Regions from separate parts of the Homo sapiens genome. Here region 2 is linked to region 1. Evidence: promoter capture Hi-C in 16 types of primary human blood cells and fetal thymus (Javierre and others, 2016). All regions are on one chromosome and are shown on one strand. Each heading gives the region's core, a stretch centred on a gene start or on the middle of the fragment in contact. The rest is flanking DNA. Distances are from core to core; before and after follow the strand shown. Region 1 holds the start of DNER (delta/notch like EGF repeat containing). Region 2 overlaps DNER (delta/notch like EGF repeat containing).

Evidence for each region. The method cuts DNA at HindIII sites, captures the fragments that hold promoters and counts their contacts. A CHiCAGO score of 5 or more calls a contact.
Region 2: a contact is called between a fragment that was not itself captured here and the fragment with the promoter of DNER in region 1, in 1 of 17 cell types (endothelial precursors). The highest score is 5.6, in endothelial precursors.

Annotation. Positions count from the first base shown.
Region 1 is chr2:229,712,630-229,719,331 of GRCh38, reverse strand. It overlaps DNER (delta/notch like EGF repeat containing), which reads left to right and starts at 4,777. Exons shown (of 13, transcript NM_139072.4): 1 at 4,777-5,184. The coding sequence starts at 4,909. RefSeq lists enhancers at 3,321-4,094, 4,095-4,869 and silencers at 4,707-4,766, 4,837-4,946. The HindIII fragment of the contact is 4,517 bases long and covers 1,268-5,784 here.
Region 2 is chr2:229,413,674-229,420,491 of GRCh38, reverse strand. It overlaps DNER (delta/notch like EGF repeat containing), which reads left to right. Exons shown (of 13, transcript NM_139072.4): 9 at 2,262-2,384. Among named protein-coding and RNA genes, the nearest start is that of PID1, 150 kb to the right of the region's middle. The HindIII fragment of the contact is 2,816 bases long and covers 1-2,741 here.

The DNA of each region.
Region 1 (6,702 bases), core at 3,528-6,027:
GCCTCATTCTGGTTCTGCAGCTACTCAGCCTCGACAGCTATTAGCTTCCTCAGTGCATCCTCTTCCTCCTCAGAAAAGATCTTTGGAGAGTCCCTTCCGATTTTCACATCTTACACCGTCACAAATCAGGAGTAGTAGTTACCTTGCAGAGAGGCAAGTGAGCAAACTAACTAAAACTCTCAAGTGCCTCCCCACAATAAACCAAAACCCAGCAAGCACCGTGCATCATACCATATATTATTGATACATACAGACATATGATACATATGTCACATATGTGATGCACATCACACATACATACATGATGTACATCACACACAATACATACATCATCCATATTTATATGATATATACATCACACATATGTACATATATTCTATATGTATATCTATATTTGTCCCTATAGCTCATGTGCAATATCCACTAAGTATCAGACTTTACATTGAAGGATACATAGTATCTACTTAGTGTCAGACTCTGCACTGTAGGAGATTGATATATCAGATACAGAGTAGAGATTCAAACAAAGCGTGGCTCCTAAGCCAGACTCCTCCTTATGTTTGAGTCTTGGCCATGCCTCTTGCAAACTGAGTGACTTTAGACATTTTACTTCAGCTCATTTCACCTCAATTTTGTCCTTTAATTGGGCACCAGTCATACTTCCTACCTCATCATGCTGGCATTAGGATTAAATGAGATAATATGTAAAGAATACTCATATTAGTGTCTGGTACACTGTAAATACTCTACATCACCACTATCATCACCTAGAGCTCTATAAAATTGGGGTTTCTGTCTCCTCTCCATGTTATATGACATCTGAAGGTCAAAAAGAATAACTTGCCCAGTGTTGTCATGGGTCCTGATAGAACTGTTCTGGCCAAAGTAGGCTGGTGCTGTTCTTCATGGTAGAAAGCTGTCACTAGGCAATGTGTCCCTTCTCTCTATACGTGGCCAACTTTTTCTTTCAAGCTGACTCCAGCTTCAATCCAGCATCCAGTCCCACCCTCTGCAGGGAGGAGGGATGTTTTCTTGTATCCTTAAAGGTTAACTGGATGTGGGAAGGGGTAGCAGGAATGACGTCACTGTCTACAGGCAAATGAAGGTGCAGAGGGAAATAGAGAGACCATCTGCTGATGGCTGCAGAAAACTTAGATTCCTTTGGAAAGAAGGTGGGTGCTAAATCCCAGGTAAGTTGGAGGGGATTTATCATCTTATGATAAATAATTTAGTTTGGGTCTTAGTTCAAATCCTGGGAGATCAAGCTTGGTAACCTTTGCAATTTCTTCTAAATATAAGTTTCTAAGTCTGTGAATGATGACACGGTGCACCCAGGCTAGCATTCTCACAGGATGCCGTGGTGGACAGAGTATGAAAACCTCATCAGGAGTGGTGTTCTCATTGAGGCCAGTGGTTCCCAATTGGCTACCTGTGAACCTGCTGGCCTGGAAAGTTGATTTTCTCCATTTGTGACAAAATGCAAAAAATAAAGACAATTATATTTGCATTAGTTTGTAACATTTTTATAATAACCTATGGGTATAATGCAATTGAGGTGTAACTCTAAACTAGATCTGTGAAGAGAAATGAGTCCTGTAAATTGTTTTGAAATTCTTCCTTTCCACCAAATCCAGAAGCCTTAGAATTTCTAATGGGATCCAGCCTTCTACCTGGCAGAAATAGTACATGTGAGATCACTAGTCGTGCTGCCTGGCTCATTGGGAACAATCAGTCCTGCTCTGCCATTTACTAGTGTGTGGCCTCGAGTTATCTTACATCGTTGAGACTCAGTGGTTTAAAACTATAGTGGTTTATTTCTTATGTCATATGCCCATTGCAGGTTCCCATTGCTTCACATTGTCCTCTCTCAGAGACACAAGCTGGAGGAGCCCCCATTGCACCTCTTGGAATCTTGCCAGTTGTCACGCTAAGGAGAGGAGAACACAGTGGGACATGGGCAGGATTTTAAAAGTTTCCATCTGGAAGTGGGGCATACTATTCCCTGCACATTTTATGGCCATGGCCAATAATATGACCACATCTAACTTTAAGGAGGGCAGGAAGAGAAAGTCTTACGAAGAAGTAGCAGTAAGATCGAATGTACTATCATTCACCTCATATTCCATTTCATTTATTTTAGCTCAGCATTTTTACTGATTAAGATAAATTTACATGTTGATTCTGGTATGAATTTTATCAGCTGCCAAAAATTTCAACTCCATGGTTATTTCCCTAAAAACTTCTTGTAGCTTGATAGTGACCCCCCGATTGGTATGTTGTTAAACAGTTTTGAGTCCACTTAGCTGAATTTTCTCCATAAGGTGATCATGAGAAATGTTATCACTTTTTTTTTTTTTGCTAAAATCAAGATACATTATTGGTATATTTGGCCTTTGACTTGTCAATATAAGGACTCTATCAAAAAAGGAAATGAGGTGGGTCAGGATGAAGATTTGATATTCTGTAAGTTGGGAATAATATAAAATAAAAGCCTGGATTTTTAGCTTTCATTTAAACATAGAGGCAATATTATTTTAATCACTTTTGCTAATGTGACAGGGTAATACATTGGTTGGACTTTTTAGTTGAGTATTTGGGGGATCTTGCAGATGGTTGAAAAGCTGTCAGTAAAGTACCAGATCAGCTTTCGGAATCTACAGAAAAGACCCATTTCTCTGAGCGTGGTAACAGTAATAATAGTTAACACTTTCATGGCACTTAGTACATGGATGTTTTGGGACCAGGACATGCAAATCAATATGCTTTTTCCCCAGCATTAATCATGTTGCTCTGCCTATAAGCTAAGGTGCTGGAAGATTATAGTTTTCCTTTTTAGCCTGGAAAAAATGAAAGGATCTTGTATTGTCTCTGCCATAATATGCATTTTAAAGATTAAAGACTAAGAGAATACTTTTAGCAAGGAAAATTATCTGAAACATGCAGTAACCAGCATCCAGAAAATAAAACCACTTTTAATTATCCTATATTTCAAAATAATATGAAATACACAAACAAAGGGGTTGCTCAGGCAAAAGTACAATAAACTGAAATGTGATTTTAATTAACTCACAACCTTTTTACACTTCATCTTGCTTCATTTGTGTGTGTGTCTTGATGGAAGGCAATGAAGAGCACTATCCACTAGTCCAGGATTTAAGGTAAGAGAAGTTAGTTTCAGGAAAGAACGCAACTCCAGGGGCACAGAAACCACCTGAATGACGACACTAGTACCAGCAGAGGGTGCTGGCGTGGCACAAAATTAAGAATTTTCAAGAGGAAGAGGTCTTAGATTGAAAGACAGCAGGTGTGAGGAAAAATGTAATAACTCTATCCACTTGGAGGTCTGAATTCTCCGCTTGCAGATCTGTCTGGGGTTCAGTGATTTCCTGCAATGGCCACATGAATTTTAGGTATCTCCTGAAGCAGAAAAGTGTGACATTTGCTTCTGCGTTTGAACAGGACAGGGAGAAGCCGTGCAGTTTGCCTTCTGTTTCCACTGGAGGACTTTTAGCAATCCCTGGCGTCTGTGACACCTACAGCAGAAGTTCACATGGAGTCCTTACTTTAATTTTTTTAAAAAACAAAACAAGCTATTTTTGTGTTTACTAAAAAAAAAATTGGCCCAGACTGTCAATCCAGGGGAATCACATTTTCTTTTTTCATTTGGCCACCTTAAAAAGAAGGTAACAGGTACCTGGGAACCCACAGGTAATAGAGATTGTGAAAGGTCAGGTGGAGGAGACAAGGCTGGATGCGCTTTATTCAGCGGAGTGCAGCCTCCTTGGCGGTCGCAGCACCAGCCAGCCCAGCCAGGACGTGTAGAAGAGCCCGCCCCCCCCATCCCCTCCGAAGTAGGTCACAGCGAATGCTCCTTTTATGCAGAGTCCCCTGTTGCGATTCCTGCCGCTAGCAGCGCCTCTGCCAACCTGGGCTTTTGAACTGTTCTTTCGGGCGTTCTGGGCTGGGAGTCAATTGACCCACTGGATTCGAATCCAGACTTTCTGGGCCTCAGTTTCCCCCTAGGTTCAACGACAGGGGTGGACAGCCTTACACCAAGGCCTCTTCCCGGCCTCACACGGCGCGGCCAGACGTTCCTTAGTGGTGCGGCAAGGCCCCGCGCTCTGGAAAGGGCCGGCGAGAATGAGACAGCTGGGTCAGCACCAAGGACAAGGGCCCCGGGTCCGCCTGGCGGAGGCGAGGTCACTTCCAGGCGAACCCGGCTGCTGAGCAAGCGTCGGGCGCAGGGTTCCGTGGCCGGGCGGGAGGGCTTGGGGTGCCGGGAGAAGCGCTGTGGGAAGGGGAGCAGTCCCGGGGGATGAGGCAAGGCCGGGCCCCGCGGCGGTCTCGCAGATTCTGCGCCAAGAGGCCAAAGGTGGCTGCTGCGAGCGCGCCGCCCCTCCCTTGAGGCGCCCTGCCGCCTCCCGCGCCCTGCCCTGCCCGGGCCTTGGGGCGCACTCGGTGCTCCCGGCTCTGGAAGCCCCTCAAAGCCCCGCTTCCCTCACTCGTGGACCTCTCCAGCCCCTTTCCTGCCCCAGCGTCGCCTGGCTCCCTGTACCAGGGCTGCTTCTGGACACACCCGTGACTTCGACCCACTCCTGGGGGATGGGGTCCCGCATCGTCTTCCTGCAACCCCCATCCCAACTCCCTGCGGGGAAAGAGGCCCCACTCCCCGATGCTCCAGAGCCGGGGCCGCCAGGCGCCCCGCCCCCCGCTCGCCCCGCCCCGCCCCGCCCCGCAGGCCCCGCCCGCCGTTGCCCGGGGAACCGCGGATCCCGCAGCTGCAGGAGGCGCCCGGCCCGGCGGAGCAGCCCTAGCCGCCACCGTCGCTCTCGCAGCTCTCGTCGCCACTGCCACCGCCGCCGCCGTCACTGCGTCCTGGCTCCGGCTCCCGCGCCCTCCCGGCCGGCCATGCAGCCCCGCCGCGCCCAGGCGCCCGGTGCGCAGCTGCTGCCCGCGCTGGCCCTGCTGCTGCTGCTGCTCGGAGCGGGGCCCCGAGGCAGCTCCCTGGCCAACCCGGTGCCCGCCGCGCCCCTGTCTGCGCCCGGGCCGTGCGCCGCGCAGCCCTGCCGGAATGGGGGTGTGTGCACCTCGCGCCCTGAGCCGGACCCGCAGCACCCGGCCCCCGCCGGCGAGCCTGGCTACAGCTGCACCTGCCCCGCCGGGATCTCCGGCGCCAACTGCCAGGTGAGTGGAAGCGGCGGGCGCGGTGCGGGGCGCTGGTCCGGGACCAGCAGCCTCTTCCCGCCGGCCCTGCTGCTGCTGCCCGACAATGGGCACGCCTGACACAGGCTTTCCCACTTTGGGAAGAAGATGGATCCAGTCTCTTGGCCCGCGTGGACGCGGACCCCCGGGCCGACCCTGATTCCCTTACCCGCCCTGGTTCCCGGGCGGGGCCAGCCGGGCTCTCGGGGTGTGCCGCTCCGGGGCTCGGCACTTCTCGCGCGGGGCTCTAGACGCTCCGGTTGGCCACTGAGTGGCGCGCCCCTCCAGGCCGGGCCGAGCCAAGAACCACTTGAGCGGTGCCCGCCTTGGCAGCGCGGAGGAGCCGGCTCCGAGCGTCCCCGGCGAGGTGTTCAATGTCCAGGTGGTCCACGCTCCACGTCCGGCTGGACCCTGTGTGTGTAAAGGGTGTGCGGTGTGGGAGGCAGGTGATGGTGGGCCCCGTGCCAGGTGGTGGGGCACTTTCTCCTTCTCTTCCTACGCCCTTGAGGGCTGTGACAAAGCAGCCAGAGGACGAGGAGGGCAGCTGCCTCCCCTCGGCCTGCGACCAGCCCTCTCTAAGCTTAGGAGCAGTGTTGGAACAGTCGGAGGCATTCGAGGGGGCATTGTACGTGGCGCTGGCAGGGCCGCCCTTCCTGCCGGACGCTCCACGGGGCGCACGCTTGGGGCTGGCAGCCGGGGCGTGAGCAGGGCACCGGGAAGCCGCCAGAAAGCGTGGGGGCGGTGCGAGGGATGGGACGATGGGATGTAGCCAGCAGCCGCCCGTGAATTTGGGGTTTTCAGGAGAATTTGGCAGAAAATAATATCTGGGGCTTTTACAAGTCCGTTAAAGCTCTGTGAAACCTATTAACATCAACATTTCCAGTAGGCAATTTGGTAGGACTGTGTGTACGGGTAGAAAATCCCCAAACCTGTATTGCAGGGTAGGGCAAATAATGAAGTTATCTGAAATGATTACATTAAACCACATGAATATGGACGATATTTGGGATCAGATACTATCTTCCTTACATTTAGGGTGGAGGAGTTTGTTTCATATAAATTTGATAACAATGATTGGAGAGTTACTTTGAGAATGCTCAAATAGGTTCTTTCAATGGGGAAAAAGGCTGCCCTTTCATTATGACAGGTTTTACATTTTTTAGAGGTAAATGGGATTGAGAAACTTGACCTTGACAGCCAGATTTTTTTGCATTTATCTAGAATCTTTTTATTTCATTTAATAGCAAATTAGCAAACTGAATCTATCTTTTCAACACTGTGCTCTTCCTCTTTGTTTACTGGTTACAATAAGCTTTAGTTACTTGAAGGGAGGTGATGAGGAGGAGGAAGAATTTGTGTGATGTGAGCCTCAGGAGTAGATTTGGGACATGATAGCTTCTTGGGGGAAATGCCTGTTGGAGCCATTCTAACCATTAGAACAAAATCTTGCTTTTGCAAAAGTCAAAATAACTGCAAATCAAAAACCAAGGAATGCACTCA
Region 2 (6,818 bases), core at 84-2,583, 300 kb after region 1:
ATGACTTCTTGGATATGATATCCGAGGTACAGGCAACAAAAGCACAAATATACAAGTGGTGCTTCAAACTTAAAAGGTTCTGCATAACAAAGGAACAATCAACAGCATGAAAAGGTGACCTATGGAATGGCAGAAAATATTTGCAAACAATACATTTGATAAGGGGTTAATATCCAAAACTCTTGTTAAAAGAAAGATCTTTCATTGAATCTAAATCAAGAATCAGCAAACTTGTTCTGCGCAAAGGGCCAGACAGTAAATATTTAGGCTTTGCAGGCCATATGGTCTCTGTTGCAACCACTCAGTCCTCTGTTGTAGTGTTAAAACGGCCATAGACAATATGTAAATGCATGACTGTGGCTGTGTCCCAATAAAACTTTATTTGCAAAAACAGGCTGGGATAGATTTCATCTGTGGGCCATAGTTTGCTGACCCCTGGTCTAGAACAGAGTTTCTCAACCTGGCTGTATTGTTATTTTTTTCTGGATAGTCTTGTTGTGAGAGGCTGTCCTGCGCAGCCTCCTGTAGAACTGTAGGATGCTTAGCAGCACTCTTGACTCTGCCTACTAGATGCCAGCAGCAACCCCTCCCCCTGCCTCCAGTTGTGACAACGAAAAATGTCTCCAAACATTTTCAAATGTCCTTTGGGGGACAAAATTGCTGCTAGTTGAGTACCTCTTATCTACATGATGAAAATAATCTAATGAAGGGTAATAGAAATATTTCCCTAAAGTTACAAAAAGTAGGGTAACATACTACTTTTCAGAAGAATTGAAAACTATAGTATATTTGTCTTAGGTAGGTCAAGGGCTCCTCAAAGGGGCCATTATCACAACCTAAATTTGGAAAGCTGTTCAAAAACAACTGAAATGGCAACATATTTGAAAAGTGCTCTGTTAATAATGCAAATATGAGCTTAACCTACTTTTATGATAGGCACAAGAAACAAAGCAGTTCAACATATTAGCATGTTCTAATGGGACTTTCTGAGTTTGAGAGTTGGTTGTGAGCTGGAAAGGCTAGGGAAAAGCTAGTAGTTCTAATTCCTACTTGGATAAGGGCTTATTTTTTCTGCTTATCTGAATTCAGAACGAACACAGTCAGTGTGACTTTTGAAAACACTCACATGTTTTTCATTGTTTGGACAGGGCTGGACAAAAATGGCCTGGTTTCACTGCAAATTGGCAGTAACACATGTTTTCAAAAGTTGAAAACAGCATAACCCTCATGAATGAATCTCAAAGAATGTTGTCTTCTTGTCCTTTAGAATAAACACCTGTTTTGCAAATAGGAGGGTAAAATCCACTTTATCAAGAAATTGTGGGTTTATTTTCTCTTCACTCACATGATTATTTCTTTAGTAATTTAAACATTTAGGTACAATTTAAAATATTATAATTTATATAATCATATCTTTAAACAAGCAATAACAACAAAAATACCCTCACATTTCATCAATAATTTCAGTTAAGCATTTTGAGCTAATTTTCTTTTCTGACTTGAAAAGGAAATACAGATATACTTTTCTAATGTGGCTCTCACACTTTTTGTTTTCTTTTGTTTTTTTTTTGAGATGGAGTTTTGCTCTTGTCGCCCAGGCTGGAGTGCAGTGGTACAATCTTGGCTCACTGCAACCTCTGCCTCCCAGGTTCAAGTGATTCTCCTGCCTCAGCCTACTGAGTAGCTGGGATTACAGGCGCCCGCCACCACGCCTGGCTAATTTTTTGTATTTTTAGTAGAGACAGAGTTTCACCATGTTGGCCAGGCTGGTCTCGAACTCCTGAGCTCAAGTGATCAACCTGCCTCGGTATCCCAAAGTGCTGGGATTACCAGCACTTTGTGGTGGCATGAGCCACCACACCGAGCCAGGTTCTCACTCTTGAAGGGAGCTGTTTGCTCCTCCCCTGCCGTAAATCCTGCTCATTCACTATCTCTGATGGCCACAGCAGACACACTCAGTGACTGGATCACCCTAACACCAGCACTGTTGGATGCACTATGATGAAAATGTCAGTGGATAAATGGAATCACTTCTTTTATACTTGGGATCATGAAAAAGTGTGATAAGAACAGGCGCTTTCTTCATAGCCTTCCCCCAAATCCACCTTTCAACTTTACCCCAAGAGATCTAGCTCCTGAAATCCCATCTGTTTATACCATACTTTCTAATGAATACCCCCAACTGCCTTCCTTGCAGGCTGGTCCCGCGTGGGTTGTAAATGGGATGCATTTGACAGTGGGCCTTTCTCTCTGTCCCTCAGGTTACCATGGCCTCTACTGTGAGGAGGAATATAATGAGTGCCTCTCCGCTCCATGCCTGAATGCAGCCACCTGCAGGGACCTCGTTAATGGCTATGAGTGTGTGTGCCTGGCAGAATACAAAGGTGAGAGGCCGCCTGGCCTTCCTGTGCCAGAATGGCTCTAAATGACGTCATGTATTTCTCAGTGTAAATGCATAAACCTCTAATTGGACCATGAATTGTTCAGAATAACAATCAAATGCTGAAGCTGGCATGATTAATCGGTCCAAGGAGACCAATTTGCAAGTCTCTGGTTTCTTCCTGATAGATTGAGAAACAACCCCCTTTCCTGTCCTGTTCTTTGTGGATCCTCGCTTTCTTTTTTATTGAATGTGTAAAAAGCTGAAAACAAAAAGTAATATTAAGATGGACTGTCAGACATAGGTTAGAGACCATGGCTGTGAAAACTGTGGAAGAGGAAGGATGCCGTCCTATAAAGCTTCTTATGCAGAGATAGAATGCTGTGCTTTCTTGGGGAGGAGGCAGGCGGAGTCCCATGTATCAGCAAGTAAGTTAATGCTTATTAAAAACAGGCGACATTGACAGAGTGTTTCCAATGTGTGGACCCCGTTCTAACCCCTAATGTGCATAGCTCACTAAATCCCCCCGAGAACCCTATGAGGTGGACAGTAATGCTCTTCCCCTATAAGCCTGGTCAGCGTGGTTCCTAAAGCCCTTTCCCAGCATCTTCACTGGCCTCTGGCCACGTTTTGTGGATGGCAAGGCTTCCTGGAGCCCAGATATCCTCAGACGGCCCTGTTCCAGGAGAACCTATTTATCAGCTGTTGCACACATTTCTCTAAGCCATAACTACGGGGCCGGGTTTAGATTTTGGAATGCGTTTGTGGGCTCTATTTATAGCCATTTCATTCAACCGCTTGCTCCTATTGCTGCTTGCTTGATGCCATCCACCTGGCTGGAGACCTTGCATTGCCCTCACCGTTGCTTCTCTTTGGATGAACCTACCTTTATTTAGTAACCTTTTTGGCAAGTCTCATGGCCTTGTAGGCTACACTGAAAACTTGATTAAGCTCCTGGATAAGAGGGCTGAAGCTGGGCCAGGTCTTGACTTTGTGTTCCACAGATCTGATGCTTCTGTTGGAGTATGACGTTCGGTTAGAACCAAACTCCACTAACATCTACCAGGACACAACAGCAGATGTGCTGGCTTCATTCTCAGGCTTCTCAGTTCTGAGTCTATCTATCTATTACCTTTCTCTCTACATATCTTCAACCTCCTTCTTTCCCCTTGCTCCTTTCCATGTGTATAAATATTTTCATGGATTTCTTACTCTGAACAAATGAAGATTCTAGGAAGATGGCAGCTCACATTGACATTCAATATCTCTGATCCCTCCTGACTCTCTGCTAGGGATGGCTCAATAAGGTAGATGACCCTGAATGGGGTCATCTGAAGATTTGGGGTCTCAAGAAAGGGTATGTGTGCTGGGAGCCTTTGCTTAACCACAAGAACAGGGGATGAGGGCTCCAGAGAGAACTGATGACTCAATGAACAGATTAGTCCAAAAAAATCCTTCAGCTTATAGAGAGGAAGTGCATGCTGTAATTGTGCTGCGTCTGACCCTAGGAGGCAGAGGGGTGTACTGATCTCATGGCTACGGGCTGCTGTCTAAGGAAATTGCACAGTAGGCTGAGCTGGCCCCCCCATTTTTTGTGGCCTTGAGAACACCAAACTGGGAGGCCTCTCTCTGCCTCATGCCTTAGTACACAGGGCCCCATTGGCTGCCCATCCATCCCTGAAGGGGAATGTGTTATGTTGTCTGTCTCTGCCAAGATTTCCACCCACTAGCCTGGCCAGTACACTAGCCCACGCCAGCAACTCAGAGAGGGAGAAAAGTTTTGGGAAATAAAAACAAAAATTGCAACAACAGCTCTAAACACTCAAGAAAGGAAGTGAAGAAAGTAATGTACACTACTCAAAATTGAATTTGGATCTGAATAAAAAGGAGGAACTAGTGCATGAGAGAATCAAAATATGAGGAAGTGGAAACCACGAGTGAAAAGACAGGAAACATGGAGAAAAGATTTGAGAGATCTGCTTCTGCCTGAGCGATGGGTGCTCCAGAAGAAGGAGCATGTGGAAATAGAAGCAGAATTAACTAACTCCTAGAAGGAGGTGTCTGTGAGGTGAAGAAAGTCTTATTTTCAAATAGAATGGGCTCACAGGGCAGTAATGGGATTAATGAAGGAGATGATACACAATTTGAGATTTCCTGGTAAAATTTGTAACTGCAAGGATAAAGAGAATTTTTTACAAGATTCTTCGAAGGGATCACAGGTTACATACAGAAGAAAGAGAATCAAATCGGCATTGTACTGCCCCTCTCTATCATGAGGTAAAGAATAGCAGAGCAGCGTTTCAGACTTTTAAATGAAAAGGACTAGGAGTTTGTTGTTTATATTTGAGGGCAAAAGAAAGACATTGCCATACATTCAAGGATACAGAAAATATAGCACCCTATACCCTAAGATAAGTACCTTAATAAGCATCGCCACCAAATAGGAACTAAATCAAAACAAAGATATCCAGATAGGGGAAGATGGAGAATGGAAGGAAGAGATGTATGCCTTTAAATGCAGGCATAAATCTAAATATTTGATATTTATGTGATTGTGAATGGTAATATAATGGTGAAGGAAAGTCTCTTGAAAAAAGTAGATCCGCCTTCTGTATCAGCTATCTATTGCTGCATAACAAATCAGTACCCGGTACTGGCTTAAACAACATGCTTTTATTACCTAACAGTTTCCTAGGTCCAGGTGTGGCTTAGTCAATTCCCAGCTCAGGGGCTCACAAGGGTGAAAGCCAGGTATTGACTGACTGAGCTCTCATCTGAGGCTTGAATAGTGAGAAATCAGCTTCCAAGTCCCCTTAGGTTATTGGCAGAACTTATATCCTCGTGGCTGTAGGATTTGTGACAGCTTGCTCTTTGAAAGCTAGCAACTATGACAGAGACCCCACTGCTTCCAGTCTTGAACTTCCGGGAAGGCCTGGACTTTTTTTTTTTGTGATGGAGTTTCACTCTCATTGCCCAGGCTGGAGTGCAATGGTGTGATCTCGGCTCACACCAACCTCCACCTCCTGGGTTCAAGCGATTCTCCTGCCTCAGCCTCCTGAGTAGCTGGGATTACAGGCATTCACCACCATGCCCAGCTGATTTTGGATTTTTAGTAGAGACAAAGTTTCTCCATGTTGGTCAGGCTGGTCTTGAACTCCCGACCTCAGGTGATCCACCTGTCTTGGCCTCCCGAAGTGCTGGGATTGCAGACATGAGCCACTGCACCCAGCCTGGACCCTCTTAAAGGTCTCACCTGGTTAGGCCAGGCCCACCTGGGAGGAACTCAAAGTCAACTGATTAGGGACCTTAATTGCATCTTCAAAATGTCTTAACTGCCATTTGCTCTTGGTTGGAAGCTCACACTCAAAGGGAGGGAATTACACAAGGGTGTGACTCCCTAGGGGTCACTCTAGGCTGTGTCCACCACTCTTGCTCTTAAGGAAAAATTTCAACAAGTAAAGTGGTTTCATATTATTTAAAACAAAGCCATGTGTTGAAGGGGGTGAGGATAGGAAAGACTGAAAGGCATACAAGTGTGTTAAACATTTCACTCCTGGCTTGGTGTGGTGGCTCGCACCTGTAATCCCAACACTTTGGGAAGCTGCAGTGGGCAGATCACCTGAAGTCAGGAGTTCAAGACCAGACAGTGAAATCCCGTCTCTACTAAAAATACGAAAATTAGCCAGGTGTGGTGGCGGGTGCCTGTAATCTCAGCTACTCAGGAGGCTGAGGCACGGGAACTGCTTGAACCTGGGAGGTAGACGTTGCAGTGAGCTGAGATCACACCACTGCACTCCAGCCTGGGTGACAAATCCAATGGGCAGATAAAGTGTTTATTTAATTTTAGTATATTTATAAAGACTTTTAGGTTTAGGTTTAAATAAGGCTGCTGAAAACAGGGAGGTAAACCCTAGTAATGTAGCAGTAAATGGTAGAACTTCTAAACTAAGAGTGGTGGGGACATGGGGAGGGTAGGTAGAAGGAATTAAAGGAGAGACAGGAGGATCTAATCATGCTCTTCCACCCAGAGGAAGAGTGAGGGGAAGTGAGAGGCCACATGATCCTGTGCTTTTCTCTCCGTGGGGGGATGGACATTTTCCCCCTTTTGGAAATATTTTTGCCAATATATATTTACATATCGTATGTCTGTATACATTCAGGAAACTGTCAGATGGATGGGTTTAAATTCCTAACTAGTACTTACCTGGAGTTAGAACTTAGATAGGTAGTATTTTAGGGATAAAGTTAAGCTTTAACTTTTTACTTTATATATATACTTTTTAAGTGGTAATTTTTACTGCTTAATATTGATATTTTTTAAACTATATATATAGTTTTTATATTTTTAGGAGGATATATATAATATAACTATATATAACACTATATATATAACACCCTCTCTATGTATATATATTTATCCTCCTAAAAAGAATGAGTG